Linked DNA regions of Homo sapiens: region 2 is linked to region 1. The links are contacts of gene promoters, found by promoter capture Hi-C in blood cells and fetal thymus (Javierre and others, 2016). All regions are on one chromosome and are shown on one strand. Each heading gives the region's core, a stretch centred on a gene start or on the middle of the fragment in contact. The rest is flanking DNA. Distances are from core to core; before and after follow the strand shown.

Region 1 (7,104 bases), core at 2,475-4,974:
ATATAGGTGTGAGCCACTGCGCCCAGCCTCCTGCTATTCTTTGAACATACCAAGCCCAGTCCTGCGTCAGGGCCCTTGGATTCTGTCCTCTCTGCCTTGTCACTCTTCCTCCAGGTATCTATATGTCTAGTTCTCTCTCTTCCTTCAGGGCTCTACCCAAATTTCACCTTATCAAAAAAAGTATTCCCTGACTATTCTTTCGAAAATAAGCCCTCTCTATCACTATCTCCTTACCATATCTTCTTCCTAGCAGTGATCACACTTTTCTTCCTAGCAGTGATCAAAACTTGACATATTTTACACATATTTGCTTATGTCATGGATTGTTACCCCCATTACTATATAAGTTCAATAAGGACAGAGGCTTTGCATTTTTAGTCACGACTGTATCCCAATTTCCTAGAAGAGTGCCTGATACACAGTAGGTGTTCAACAAATAGATGTTGATGAATGGATTTGTTGAATGGCCTCATCCAGATATCTAGTCATCAGGTGAAGAGAATGGTTTCCAGAAGGTTGTCTAATTGATGTGATAAAAATCAAGTGGGAGGAACTGTGAAATTTACATGGAGATCATCAGATTATGTGTTCTTTTATTACCAGTGACCACTGCAGGATTCATAGATATTCTGTTTGGTCCTTTATGCCAAATCCTATGCCAAACTATAAGGTAGAATGAGACACCCGCCTTTAACTTCTTTAGCATGTCACTTACACTCTGGGACTCAGCGTTTTCATCTGCAAAATAGGCAGCTGGAGATGTGGTCATTGCTCTGCTAGTCTATGGTCTACCAGATGCTGGAGGGAGGCAATACAGTTAGGAGGATCAACCACACAGGCTCTGGAGCTTGACTGCCCATGTCTGAATCCTGTCTCCATTCCCCACAAACCCTATGACCTTGGGCAACTTACTCAGTTCCCTCATTTATAAAGTGGGAATAATAAAAAGATCACAAGAACACAACTCAAAGAGTAATTGTGAGGATTACGTAAGATCATACATGTAAAGTGTGTAGCATATGGGCTGGCACATGGTAAGTGCTCACTAAATGTTAGCTACTAAAAATGAAAAGTTCTGGGAAAATTTTTGAGGGGTCATCGCTATTAATGTGTTTTAGGGGTGACAAACTGTTCTAGAATATTAGATAATATGGGCATTTTAAAAGCATGATAATTGGCTGGGTGCGGTGGCTCATGCCTGTAATCCTGGCATTTTGGGAGACTGAGGTGGGCGGATCACCTGAGCTCAGGAGTTTGAGACCAGCCTGGCCAACATGGTGAAACCCTGTCTCTACTTAAAATACAAAAATTAGCTGGGTATGGTGGTGCGTGCCTGTAATCCCAGCTACTTGGGAGGCTGAAAATCACTTGAACCCAGGAGGCAGAGGTTGTAGTGAGCTGAGATGGTGCCACTGCATTCCAGCCTGGGTGATAGAGCAAGACCCTATCTCAATAAAATAAAATAAAATAAAGCATGAGAATGGTGTTGTGCCTAGTTGGGATAACGCTTTTCTTCTTGGGAGATGCATGGTGAATTGAAGTACTTACAGATAAAATCTCATTGAAGTACTTACAGATAAAACCTCACGATGTCTGTCACCTTATTATTATTATTATTATTATTATTTTTGAGACGGAGTCTCGCTCTGTCACCCAGGCTGGAGTGCAGTGGCGCAATCTCGGCTCACTGCAAGCTCTGCCTCCTGGGTTCATGCCATTCTCCTGCCTCAGCCTCCCCAGTAGCTGGGGAGTAGCTCCCCAGGTGCCCACCACCACGCCCGGCTAATTTTTCTGTATTTTTTAGTGGAGACGGGGTTTCACCGTATTAGCCAGGATGGTCTCAATCTCCTGACCTCATGATCCGCCCACCTCGGCCTCCCAAAGTACTGGGATTACAGGCGTGAGCCACCGCGCCCGGCCACGATATCTGTCACCTTCTGATAATCTAGGCAAATATAGCTCTGTTTTCATATCTATCAATAAAGCAAATGTGGCAAAAAGCAATTGTTGGAGCTAGGTAGATGGCATAGTTTATTGTACTATTCTTTCAACATTTTGGTATGTTTAAAAATGTCAAAATAAAAGGTTGGAGAAAAAACAAAAGGTCCTAGAAACAGTCTAGTGAAATCCAACACTCACATTTTACAGAAAGAGAACCATAAGCTCAGAAAACAAGACAGTTGCTCGAGGTTATACAGCTGGAAAAGCCTGGGCCAGGTCTCTTGGCCGCCAGGTTCTCCCTGTGTGTGGGCTTCAGACTCTCAGGCAGCAGTGAGCTGCAGAGGAGCACACCCCACCACCCCTCAAAGAGACCAAGGGGTATTATGGGTATGTAAAAAGGCACTTGTGTTGGTGTTTCCTTTTTTTTATGTCTATTTTATTTATTTATTTATTTATTTATTTTTTGAGACAGAGTTTCGCTCTTGTCGCCCAGGCTGGAGTGCAATGGTGTGATCTCAGTTCACTGTAACCTTTGCCTCCCGGGTTCAAGCAATTCTCCTGCTTCAGCCTCCTGAGTACCTGGGACTACAGGCGGGTGCCACCATGCCTGGCTAATTTTTTTTTGTATTTTTGGTGGAGATGGGGTTTCAGCATGTTGGCCAGGCTGGTCTTGAACTTCTGCCCTCAGGTGATCCACCCGTCTCGGCCTCCCAAAGTGCTGGGATTACAGGTATGAGCCACTGCTTCCGGCCTTATTTTTATTTTTTTAAGAGACAGGCTCTTGCTCTATTGCCCAGGCTGGAGTACAGTGGCACAATCATGGCTAGCTGCAGCCTTGAACTCTTGGATTCAAGTGATTCTCCTGCCTTAGCCTTCTGAGTAGCTGGGACCACAGGCACACATCACAACGCCCGGCTAATGTTTTCATTTTTTGTGCAGACAGGGTCTTGCCCAGGCTGGTCTTGAACTCCTGGGCTCAAGCAATCCTCCCACCTCAGCCTCCCAAAGTGTTGGGATTACAGGTGTGAGCCACTGCACCTGGTCTCCTTTTTATTAAACAAATAGATCATTTAGTTGGAATTTATGATGTCAAAAGTGCGAAGGTGGCACCAGAGCCAGACCTGCCATCCTTGGAGAGTGAGCATACCGGTTTGGCACCATCTGCTTGTGGTTTTTGAGTGGTGGTGGTAGTGGTGGTGCGTGTATGTAAACTCGGGTTGCAGAGGAGAGAGGGAAGAGTAAAGGGTGGGGACCAGGTCCAGGAAGAGCAGCAAGGAGAGACTGGCTTCAATTCTGGAGCTGCCTGAAAGAAGGGACCCCAGGCTATGGCTGAGAACGAAATGTGGGCACGTATTTAAAGAAAGGAAATGATTCTCTGCGGTCGGCAGGATCTTTGTCTAGCTAGTGGGGTTCCAGGAAGTGCAAAGGAGAGGGGAAAAGAGGGGCCGTCCGTGCAAGCCTGACTGTGTGTATATGGGGGGGGGGCACACAGAGAGGAAAAGGGAGAGAAAGAAAAGAAATTATTCTAAAGAGGAAGCTGGGGGCGGGGCGAGGGAGGGGTAGAGCCGGGGCACTGGGGGTGGCTGGAAAGGTAGAGAGGCCTCACCTGCGGGCCTGCGAGCGGCTCGGGAGCGGTCAGCCTTGCAGGCTGAAGCGTCTTGCCCCGGAAAAATTCCTGCCCCACTGTCCTTCAGGCTGGATGTCCCGGGGGCCACGGAAGCGAGCGCAGAGCTCCGGGGCTCTCACGAGGGGGAGGGCAGGAAGGGGAGGCGGGGCCTCGCGCGGGGCGGTAGCCGAGCCTGTGGCCCGGGCGGGGCTCCTCTCCGGCGGCGCCGGAGTCTGGGGGCCGCGGCTTCCCCCTCCCGGCCAGCGGCGGCTCCTGGCCCCTCCTCCCCCGGCCGCCCCCATCCCCGCCGCCGCCGCCGCCAAAGCTAAACCCGGCCGTTGCCTGCAGGAGCCGCGGCAGCGGGCGATCGGGCCGTGAGGAGCCTCGGGCGCGGCCTCGCCTCCCGGGCCCGGCGCCTGCCTCAGCACAGCGGACAGCGCCGCGCCCCTTGCCTGGACCCAGCCGCCCGCCCGCCCCCGGCCCACCTGAGCCCGGGCCCGCGGCGCCCGCATCAGCACTGCGGACAGCGCCCCGGGCCCCAGCTCGCCGCCACCGCCGCCGCCCACCTGCTCCCGGGGTCAGCACCGCGGAGACCCCCCTCGCCCGGCCCCGCGACAGCCTCCGAGCGCCCCCGGATCATGGCCACCGAGGTAGGGGCGAGCGCCCCACCCGCAGGCAGTGCCCGATTGCCGCGGGACCAAATGCCCTAGGGGTGGGCTGGGCAGGAGTGGGAGGCGGGAGTTGGGGGTGGGATGGGGTGATTCCCCAGGTCAGGTCTGGAGGGAGGAGGTAGGGGCTTAGTGAGGGCTCATCTCCCCCTTGCGTGTCAATCTTCCCCTCGCCCCACCTGAGCCCCCAAGCTGTCCGCGACACTTGTTGGCATTAGCGCCAGGGTTGCTTCAGGGCCCCAGGCTGGGGTTTCCCCTTCCCTGGACTTCACAAGTCCTGAAACCGCTTTCCTAGAGGGTTGGAGACGCGTGTGTGTGCGTGTGTGAGGGGAGGGAAGGCGGCTGTCCGCTGTTGCTATGCAGTCAGCTTCTGAACCCAAAAGCTTGGCTAAGGGATGACAGACTTACCTCTACATCCGCATTTCCTTTGCGGGAGGGAGGGGACAAAGACATCCTCAGGCTGAGAACCCAAATGGTTGGTCTCCACTTTTGCATATCACCCTTCTTGCTTTTTTACCCCATTCGAGTTTTTTTTTTTTTTTTGTCCCAGGGTGTCCAGATTTCCCCTCCATCTGATGGGAGTTTCTGCCTTCTTCAAGGTGCACTGATAGGTGTGTCACCTTCAAGCACTTGAAGGCTGAACCACGGGGCCTGTTAGCTAAGGGCAGAATCTTGGTATAATGCTTGAGGTCGAGGATTCCCCCCTCTACCCCTAGGGATTGCCCTTTCCCCCCTCATTTCAGGAGGGAGATTGGGCTCTTTATGTTCCCACTTTATACATGATAAAGGTGATGTGTGGAAAACGAAAGGACTAATTTGCTACTCCACACAGCATGTCAGCAGCAGAGCGGAAAGTTTTTGCCTTTGAATTTTTGGAGCGAAACTCAGGACATCAGGGTCTCCCCAGTTCTGATGTTGACTTCCTTTGTGGTGTCTCCCCATTTCCAATCCAGCTGGCATACACTGGGGGAGAGCAGAGGCCTGTGAATGATTCAATGCAGTGCTTCTGGGCATCCTGGTGAGCAGTGTGACATTAATACCAAGTGTGGCTGTTGTTATTCCACTCAAGTTTCCACCACAGAACAAGGTGCTGTTGCTTGGCATTGCTTGGCATTCTGACAAGGCACAAGGTTAGCTAGGCGGAGAGTTGCCCCTCAGGACTTGGTGTGAGGGCAAGCCCTGGGCAGACCCTGGGAGCTTGGTTTCTAGAGTAGAGGAATGCAGAGTACTCACAAAGCACCAAAGACATGGAGGACAGCAGGAAGAACAAAGGGAGAAACCAAGGAGTTGGTTACCTTCCAGATAGGGCTGCCAGACTGCAGCAGAGGCTGCTGTGTTGGACAGAAAAGGGGAACTTCAGCTACATGGGCATGGCTGGGCCAGCAGCGTGGGCAGAGAAGGCAGCTGCCTCTGCGATGTGATCTGACAGATTCCAACAGGCCCATCTGTCCCAGGATGTCTGCCATGGCCCACAGATTCCAACCAGCAGGCTTCTATCTCTATGTCAAGACAGCGTTTCCAGGAGGCTGCTATGAGACATGTGTGACTCTCCCCTGGGAGGGGCTCTGCTCATAACGCCTCTGAAAATATTGCGCTTTCCTGTGTACAAAGCACTATCGCATAAGTGATCTCTTTCAAGCCTCAGAGCAGCCCTATGAAGTGGGTAAGGATGGTGTTATTATGCCCAATTAACAGATGAGACAACTAAGGTTCAGAAACTTGCCTGGTCCCTGTGAAGGAGCCAAAGAAGGCATCATTATCCCATTTTACAGATGATGGAACTGAAGTGCTGAGACTTATTCAGGAAAATATGGCTAAAAGGTGGCAGGGATGGGATAAGAACTTGAGTCTTCTGCCTCTTTGGCCAGTGCTTTTTTTTCCTGCATCCAATTAGCCTATTGTGTCACCTGATAGAGAGGAGGGCCCTCCAGGTCTTGATGTGAAGCTTTGGTGGAGAGAGGGATGCAAAGGAAGTCATGAAGGGCTGGAGTGTGGGGACTCAGGCCCCCTGCTTGGCCTGGCTGGGTTGGTTTGAGGGCAGAGGGACAGAGGAAAGTCCCGGAGTGATGGGGAGCTGAGGACAAACATTCCTCACTTCACAATTTGGCCTTGGGTGGACTCTGATGGCAGAACTGAGGCAGGAAGCCTTAGCTCTGCCAGGGCACAGGACCTGCACGTATTCTGGGTTGTGGGGTGAGTCATTCTCCCAAGGCTGTTTTTACTGTTAGAATTGAGTTGAGATTACCAGGATAAACTTGTTGGGAGAGGGAAAACATCGCTTTAAGTTCCCATGATTATTCTGTTAGGATTCTCAATAGGAACTCCTCAGCTCTAGGAGAAGCTGTATTGAGAGAAGGAGAGAGGGAGAGGAAGGGGGTGGGGAGAGGGACAGAGAGGGAGGGGTGAGGGAGAGGGAAGAAATTCATGGGTGGAAACTGGGTCTTTTCTGTTCCCTAATTTCTGTTTAGGAGTTAGCATTAGGGGAGAGGTGTCTGTAAGGAACTCAGAGGAGGGATGGAGCCTCCTGAGTGATACACTGACCTCATTTGGAGAGCTGCAATGAGCCCATTTTCTGAGCAGCAAACCTCTGTGAATGTGTGTCACTGGGAGCAGGGTCTGCCCTGGGAAATAGTCCAGATGGCCAAGGACAACTGGGAAGTGCCTGGCTGGGAGGGGCTTCTCCAAGTGGTGGGGTTTGGTCTCTAAGAGATTTTTAAATGCATCCAAGTAGCGTTATTCAAGCAGGGTGTTTGGAGGTTTGATCTTTGAGGCATGGAATTAATGATGAGTAGACAACTGGGTCAGGCTTGAGCACTGGTACAGGCTGAGAAGAAGGGAGGTCTTGTGGCTGGTGTTTTATCCTTAGGCCTGACCTGGCTGTCTGTGACT
Region 2 (7,104 bases), core at 1,708-4,207, 350 kb before region 1:
GCTGGTCCCTTTAGCGCTAACAAAGCTTGATTTAGGCTGAAAGATTAGAAAGCACATCTTATTCTATAAACGCTTCAACACTCTGTTATCCTTCAACAACCCTAACTAGGGCTGTGATCTAAGATTGACAATATTAACTTAATCCTTGTCAAATTTGTTTTCATTTTATGGCTCCCTGGCTCAAGGATCTACAACAACTCTTAGTACAGATAACAGGTCATTCAAATTTCTCTGCCTGGAATCCAAAGTTATACACAATCCAACCCTACCAAACCTTTTCAACTTTTATCTGTTACTATTCCTTTGTACCAACTTTCTTTTCTTTTTGTTTTTTTGAGACGGAGTCTCGCTCTGTTGCCCAGGCTGGAGTGCAGGGGCGCGATCTCCGCTCACGGCAGCCTCTGCCTCCCAGGCTCAAGCGATTCTCCAGCCTCAGCCTCCTGAGTAGCTGGGATTACAGGCATGCACCACCATGCCTGGCTAATTTTTGTATTTTCAGTAGAGCGGGGTTTCACCATGTTGGCCAGGCTGGTCTCAAACTCCTGGGCTCAAGCAATCCGCCTACCTTGTTCTCTCAAAGTGTTGGCATTACAGGCGTGAGCCACTGTGCCCACCACCAACTTTCTTTTCTTAGGAGGGCTAAATTACAACAGGGCTAGTGTTACAGTCTTAAATCAGTTGAGTTGAATTCAAATTAAGCAACAGTTTAGACCATTTTTTTTCAGAAAGAAACAAAAATATAAATTTTGCAAAAACGTTTGTAAGAATTTAGCAGTCCCAGTGGCTCATGCCTGTAATCCCAGCACTTCGGGAAGCTGAGATGGGAGGATGGCTTCAGTCCTGGAGTTAGAGACCAACCTAGGCAACATGGTGAAACCTCGTCACTACAATACAAAAATTAGCCGAGCGCAGTGGCACACTCCCTGTTGTCCCAGCTACTTCGGGAGGCTTGAGGCAGGAGGATTGCTTGAGCATAGGTCGAGGCTACAGTGAGCCATGATTTCACCACTGCACTCCAGCCTGGCAGACAGAGAGGGACCTTGTCTCAAAAAAAAAAAAAAAAAAAGAGAAGAATTTGCAGTCCTTATTCAAGATAAGTCCTTATTCAAGATAAGACATTCAAGATGTCTTTTCAAAATATGTTCTGAATCAAAAAAAAATCCAAAATTATTGTTTTCGTATCGCATAAATGTGAAAGACTCATCACAAATGACACTGATATAGTAATGTTCTATATCTTCGTAGGGGGTTGGATTGTATAGGTGTATGCATTAGTCAAAATCAGTGAACGTACACTTAAAGGTTTATATATTCCATTTTACATCAAAATAAACCGTCAACAAACTCTAGTCAATGACATGCATGCCAAAGTATTTAAAGGAAAGTGTACAGGTATCTGCAATTTAAATGGATGGATAGCTATATGATAAAGCAAGTAATATTAAAATGTTAATGGTAGGATAGATCCTAAGTGATGTGCTCCTTATAAAATTCTTTATACTTGGCTGGATATTCGAAAATTTTCATAATAAAATATGAGGGAAAATGACATTGGTAAGACACTGTACTTGTAAATTGTAAACACTGATAACACACTACATTTCATAAAATTGTAAGATGTTAAGTTTGGTGGCAGCACCAGGTATTTGCTCCTTGATGCTTCCAAACTACGCTGCACACACCTCTTACAGAATGGTTGCCTCTCCCAGCATACTATAAGTTCCTGGTGGGCACAGATCTAACCTAATTTGTATTTATATTCCTATTGCTTTGCATCATGTTTGGGGAATAATATGTATTCAACAATAGTGGCATGATTGAATTAAAGTGGAATACTGCTAACGAACAAAGTATTATATTTCTAGCAGATTCACTATTCTTTTCTTACATATTCTAAAGGTTAATACGCTCAATATCCAAGAGAAATGTGTCCTTACTTCTCTCCAAGCATACGAAATTTCCAAAGTTTTTTTAAAAAAACTACTCATTAGATAATTTTATATTGTTACTTAAACCCAAGATCTGAAGGCCTCCTAACATTCAATAACTTTTTAGTAGTTTTTTTTTTTTCCTAGAAGAGCAAAGTCTCAGAACTCCACGGAAGCCTGGAAATCGTTTTATTCTAATTTTAGATAAGCTGTCTGAACTAAGAGATCTCTGAACTGGTCAAAAGCAGGAAAGTGGGGGTCTGGGAAGAAGACAAAAACAAACGCCACATAAAACGTCATGGAGCAAACTAATCAAGAACTTTAGCAAGAAACGGAGAGAAAGTCTTAAGGAGGACACCCAGAACATCTCCAGCTCCTCCTGGCCCGTCTCCTCAACTCCTCTTAATTCCAGCCAGTCAGAGCGCGGGGCCATCTGCCACTCCCAGGATGCCACGCGACGGGAGCGGACGCTGCGAGGATGCACCTCCACACGTCAACCTCCCACAAACAGCATGGCTTCGTGGCGTGAGCACCCGGTTCGGACCTGAACGCCTGGGTCCGAGTCCCACCTCCCCCTCCTGCCTGGTCTGCAGCCCTGCGCAAGTCCTCTTGCCCTCGCTGAGCCTCAGTTTCCTCATCTGTAAAATGTAATGATTCCCTATAATTGGCTACAGGGAGATGAGAAGTGTAAATGGTTTTAAGGAAGACACAGGCAACTCTCTAACTTGTTACGGCTCTGAACCTCGCGGTGCTCACTAACCAGCCTTGAGACCAATCTCTCAAAGTCACCCCGCTCCTCCCTTCCCGCCCGGCGCCTGTACTGAGGCCGCTCCCTCCTGTTGGCCCCCATGCGGAAGGCGCGCGGCGCCGTCTGCCGTACCTGCAGCCACCTGGTCAGCGGGGCCCTCTTGCTGACCCACGACGAAGTCGTGCACGAGGCCCCATAGGGCACCCATAGGCGCCGCCGCCTCCACAGCCGCGGCAGCGGCCATAACGCGAACTAGAGACCGTGGGAGGGGATATGGGCGGTGGCTCGAGACGGGCTCTCCGCGCATGCGCCTCCCGAGCCAATCTCCGGGGAAGCGCAAGGGGGCGGGGCGCCGGGGTCACGTGCCTGCCGGCTTCTGCCTAGGCAGTTCCAGGGAGGGGCGGGGCCTGAAATGGGGCGGTGGCACCGAGAGGGAAGGCGGCTGCTGGGCACGCAGCCGGAGGCGATTGAGGGCGAATAATTCCCAGCCCGGCTCCCCGGGAGACGGGCTGCGGGGCGGGCACCTGGCTGGGTGGGGAGAGGGGCGGTACGCACCACGGGGGAAGCCAATGAGAAAATCAGGCCCAGCCCTAGGGGGCGGTGCTGTCGGTCACATGCGCACCTGGGGCGGGTGGTGGCGGCGGCGCGGGCACCGCGAGCCGGCGGAAGGGAGAGGGGCCGGCCTGGGGCGGGGTTAGGCAGGTGAGTGACAGGCTCCAGGGGGCCGGCCCCTGCCTGGTGCCCCGAGCGAGCCGGGAGTAGCTGCGGCGGTGCCCGCCCCCTCTCTCCGCCCCTCCAGCGGAGCTGGTCTCCGGCCGGGCACCGTCGCGGGCCCCCCTGGCCCGGCCACCTGGGACCGTGCTGGGGAGTCTGCCACTTCCCTCTCTCCCCTGGCCCGCAAAGTTTTGGCGGAGCCATCGCTGGGGCTGAGCGCGCCCCCGGGGGGAGATCGGGGAGCGCCCGATGCCGGGCGGCCGGAGCCATTGACCCGGGACGCCGCCGTCCGCTGAGCAGCCGACCACCCCGCCGCCTCCGGTGCATGGGGACTGGCTGAGGAGCCAGCATGGGCAACTGCGTGGGGAGACAGCGCCGGGAGAGGCCGGCAGCCCCGGGACACCCCCGCAAGCGAGCAGGTAACGATGGGGAAGGGAGCAGGGCCTCGGGCATCCCGCCAGTTGTCCCCCTCCTCGCCCGAGTCCTGGGCTTACCGATGGACTCCCCACTGGTGCTGGCGCTTGGGTTTCCCCGATGGGCTGCTCCGCAGCCAGAGGGGGCCGCTCCCCAGCGCCGGGCGGCCGGGGGAGCTGAGTTGGGGCAACTGCGAGCACTGAGCCGGCTGCGCGACCAACTCTCTCCAACTGGGTAGCTCCTGGTGGGGGTGGGGGCAGGAAATGTTTGCAGACCGCAGCGGGGCCGACGGATCGGGAGGAGGCCGGGGGCGAGGGCGCCGCTGGCCTGGCAGCTCCGGCCGGGGTCGGACGCCGGCCCGTCGGGGCACGGCGCGGGCAGCCAGGCGTCCCCAGAACTCGGAGCGAGCGAGGCGAGAACAGTCGCTCCTTCCAAAGACTGTGTCATTATCGAGCTGCAGATCGTGTCTGCGGGAATCCGACTTGCAAAGCAGCGCAGGACTCTGGGAAAGAAATCTTTATTTTTCCCGCAGGGGTTTTTAGAGCCTCTCGGCCGTCTGGGAGTCTATAAAAGATGGGGTGCGGGGTGAGAGTCACCCTTGGGATTGTTGGGATCCTTCCCAGCTTTGGGAGTGAGATCGCTCGCTGGTGATCCTCCAGGCCCGCGCAACGCTTTCTCACTTTCATGGTACACCCCGCCTGCCCTGGCATTTCGCCCCGGGAAGAGGTCTGTCGGTCATTTTTCTGGGTCTTACACTCACTTCCTTCTTTGAGGGTGTTGCAAGGACCCGCTGGGAATAATATCGTAGACTTGAGAGCTCAAACTTGTCTGGATTCCAGATGGACCCATCTCCTACTCTGTGTCAAAGCCCAGATCCTGAGAGGTTGAACACCTTGTCCAAAGTCACACAGCTAGTTAGGAGCTCACCTGGGGCTAGAACTCAGCCTCCTCTCCCACCCCATTGCCACATATCCCCTTATGTAAGAGGAGCCACAGGCAGAGTTGTTAATGAAGTGGAAACTCTAGTTGGAGTTTCCTGTCTCCCTTGACACCGAAGGTGTGTTGCTTGGGTTGCGGAAACTGGGAAGGAAGATGGGGGAACCAGGGGAAGCAGGGAAGGATGTCTGCATGGTGGACAGGATGACTTGTGGAGGCAGAAATGTGTTTTTATGGGAAGGATGCAGTAAAACTTATTGAAATTCTCTTGTCTGAAGGTAACTCTGGCCATTCTTCTGGCTGAGGAGAGATGACTCTCAAAACCAAGGGCTGGCTTGCTTTCATTCATTCATTTGTTCAACAAATATGTGTTCAGGCCCCATAATTGATTTTGCAGCATTTTTTGCTGTTGACAACTCTCTCCTACGAGACATTCCCCCCCTTCCTTTCTTGGCATCAGACTGTCTTGGTTTTCCTTTCTGAACACCCCTTTCCACCATCACCTTCTAGCTTGGGGGCACGCTGGTGCTTAAGTTTGACATTCTGTTTTTTCTCTCATTACACTCTCTCCCAGAGAAATCTTGTTCAGTCCCACAACTCTTTGTCCATTGGGAATACCCCTATGCTTAAACTTCAGCTCTTCTCTCTTGAACCCCAGAACCCCATCTCTAGATGCCCACTGGACACTGTGATATAGATATTCCCAGATTTAACACCTCCAAAACCAGGCTCTGCATCGCTCCCTGTCCACCAGCTTTCCTTCTTTACTCTTATGTTCTTCCAGCTGCCTAACTTTAGGCTGTGAAGAGCTCTTTCTCTCATGACTTTCTCTGCTTCCTTGTCGCCTGCCTCTCAGCCAGTCATTGGGGTCTGCTGGGTCTTCCTTCCGCGGGACTTGCAAACCTGCCCCTTGCCACCCTACTTTGTACCCTTCTCACCTCAAGTCAACCCTTGTCTCAGGCTGAAGTGAGGTACCCCCCAAAGGCAACTTCATCTTCAGTCATCATTCAGTCCTACACACAGTTGTCCCCACAGAAGACATTTGTTAAATTAACTTCTTCCAGATTTTATAGTTCTGTGTTCAGAATGTTTCTGTACTTGGCCAGGCGTGGTGGCTCATGCCTGTAATCCCAGCACTTTGGGAGGCCAAGGCAGGTGGATCACCTGAGATCAGGAGTTCGAGACCAGCCTGGCCAACATGGCAAAACCCTGTCTCTACTAAAAATACAAAACTTAGCCAGGCATGGTGGTGGCAGGCGCCTGTAATCCCAGCTACTCAGGAGGCTGAGGCAGGGAGATTGCTTGAACTGGAAGTTTCGCAGAGGTTGTAGTGAGCTGAGATTGCGCCACTGCACTCCAGCCTGGGTGACAGAGCGAGACTCTGTCTCAAAAAAAAACAAAACAACAGCAACAACAACAACAAAACACCTTTCTGCATTTTCCCACTCCTACAAGTACTTTAACTTTCAAGGCTGTTCAAGTGTGGGCCAGTCCTTTCTTTTAAGTCCTGATTTCTTTCCCTTCTCTGACATTAAGACCACCAGTGTTTGCTCGTGCCATTTCCTTCTTATCGAGAGTCTTTCATCCTTTGGGTTCATTTCAAGTGCCGTGCCTTGTTTGAAGCACCTTGCCTGACAAGTCTGCCATTTCCCCCTCCCTCCGCACCCCACCACACACACCCCGTGGAAGTGATTGCTCCTTCTGAGAACTCCTGCAGACACATTATCTATGCCACTTACTTAACAATTATGTACTCTGTATTATTAATCATGTCTTTGATGTTTACAGTCTTTTATCAGCAACTACATTGCAAGCCTTGAAGACCTGGGTTCTGTCTTATCCTTGTAGTATATGTCTCTCTCACGCACACACACACATTCAGCACTTAACACAATGAGTTGTACAGAAGTAGCACTCAGTATTTGTTGATTTTAGAAAGCAAACTCAACTTCATCCTACCATCTGCATTTTTCATATATCTGCATTTTTTTTTTTACCTGCTAGTTTATCATTGCTTTAGTTCTGTGGGTCCTACTATGAATAGCTTTATTCATAAAGTCCAAAGCCGAGGGGAACTCTGTAGGATGACAAATTTGGTACAAGGGAAGGAATCCTTCTTAACTCCACAGTGCACCTGGCATTCCTGTAACATCTGTGGCTTTTCCTTTGACAAGGACATAGTTTTACGTTGTAAGACTAATGCCTAAAACTCCCCCAGCGCCACTGTAACTCTTACCTTCCTTTGGCACTAATGTAATGGGAAGAAAGCCTCAACAGGGAGCTAGGACCTGAGTTCTAGTCCTGGGCCTATAACTCAGTGACCCTGGGCAAGTCATCTAACCTTTCTGGGTCACACTTTCAATA

Evidence for each region. Contacts are between HindIII fragments. The CHiCAGO score rates a contact against its expected background, and 5 or more counts as called.
Region 2: the fragment with the promoter of MMS19 here is called in contact with the fragment with the promoter of GOLGA7B in region 1 in 8 of 17 cell types (naive CD4 T cells, total CD8 T cells, naive CD8 T cells and 5 more); the score reaches 9.8 in naive CD4 T cells.

Annotation. Positions count from the first base shown.
Region 1 is chr10:97,846,119-97,853,222 of GRCh38, forward strand. GOLGA7B (golgin A7 family member B) reads left to right here and starts at 3,725. Exons shown (of 5, transcript NM_001010917.3): 1 at 3,725-4,197. The coding sequence starts at 4,186. It overlaps GOLGA7B-DT (GOLGA7B divergent transcript), which reads right to left and starts at 3,680. Exons shown (of 3, transcript NR_108035.1): 1 at 3,548-3,680. The HindIII fragment of the contact is 7,033 bases long and covers 1-4,596 here.
Region 2 is chr10:97,495,465-97,502,568 of GRCh38, forward strand. It overlaps MMS19 (MMS19 cytosolic iron-sulfur assembly component), which reads right to left and starts at 2,958. Exons shown (of 31, transcript NM_022362.5): 1 at 2,809-2,958. The coding sequence starts at 2,920. It overlaps UBTD1 (ubiquitin domain containing 1), which reads left to right and starts at 3,460. Exons shown (of 3, transcript NM_024954.5): 1 at 3,460-3,809. The coding sequence starts at 3,740. RefSeq lists enhancers at 2,083-2,613, 2,290-2,339, 2,700-2,869 and silencers at 3,110-3,869, 3,880-4,079. The HindIII fragment of the contact is 10,400 bases long and covers 24-7,104 here.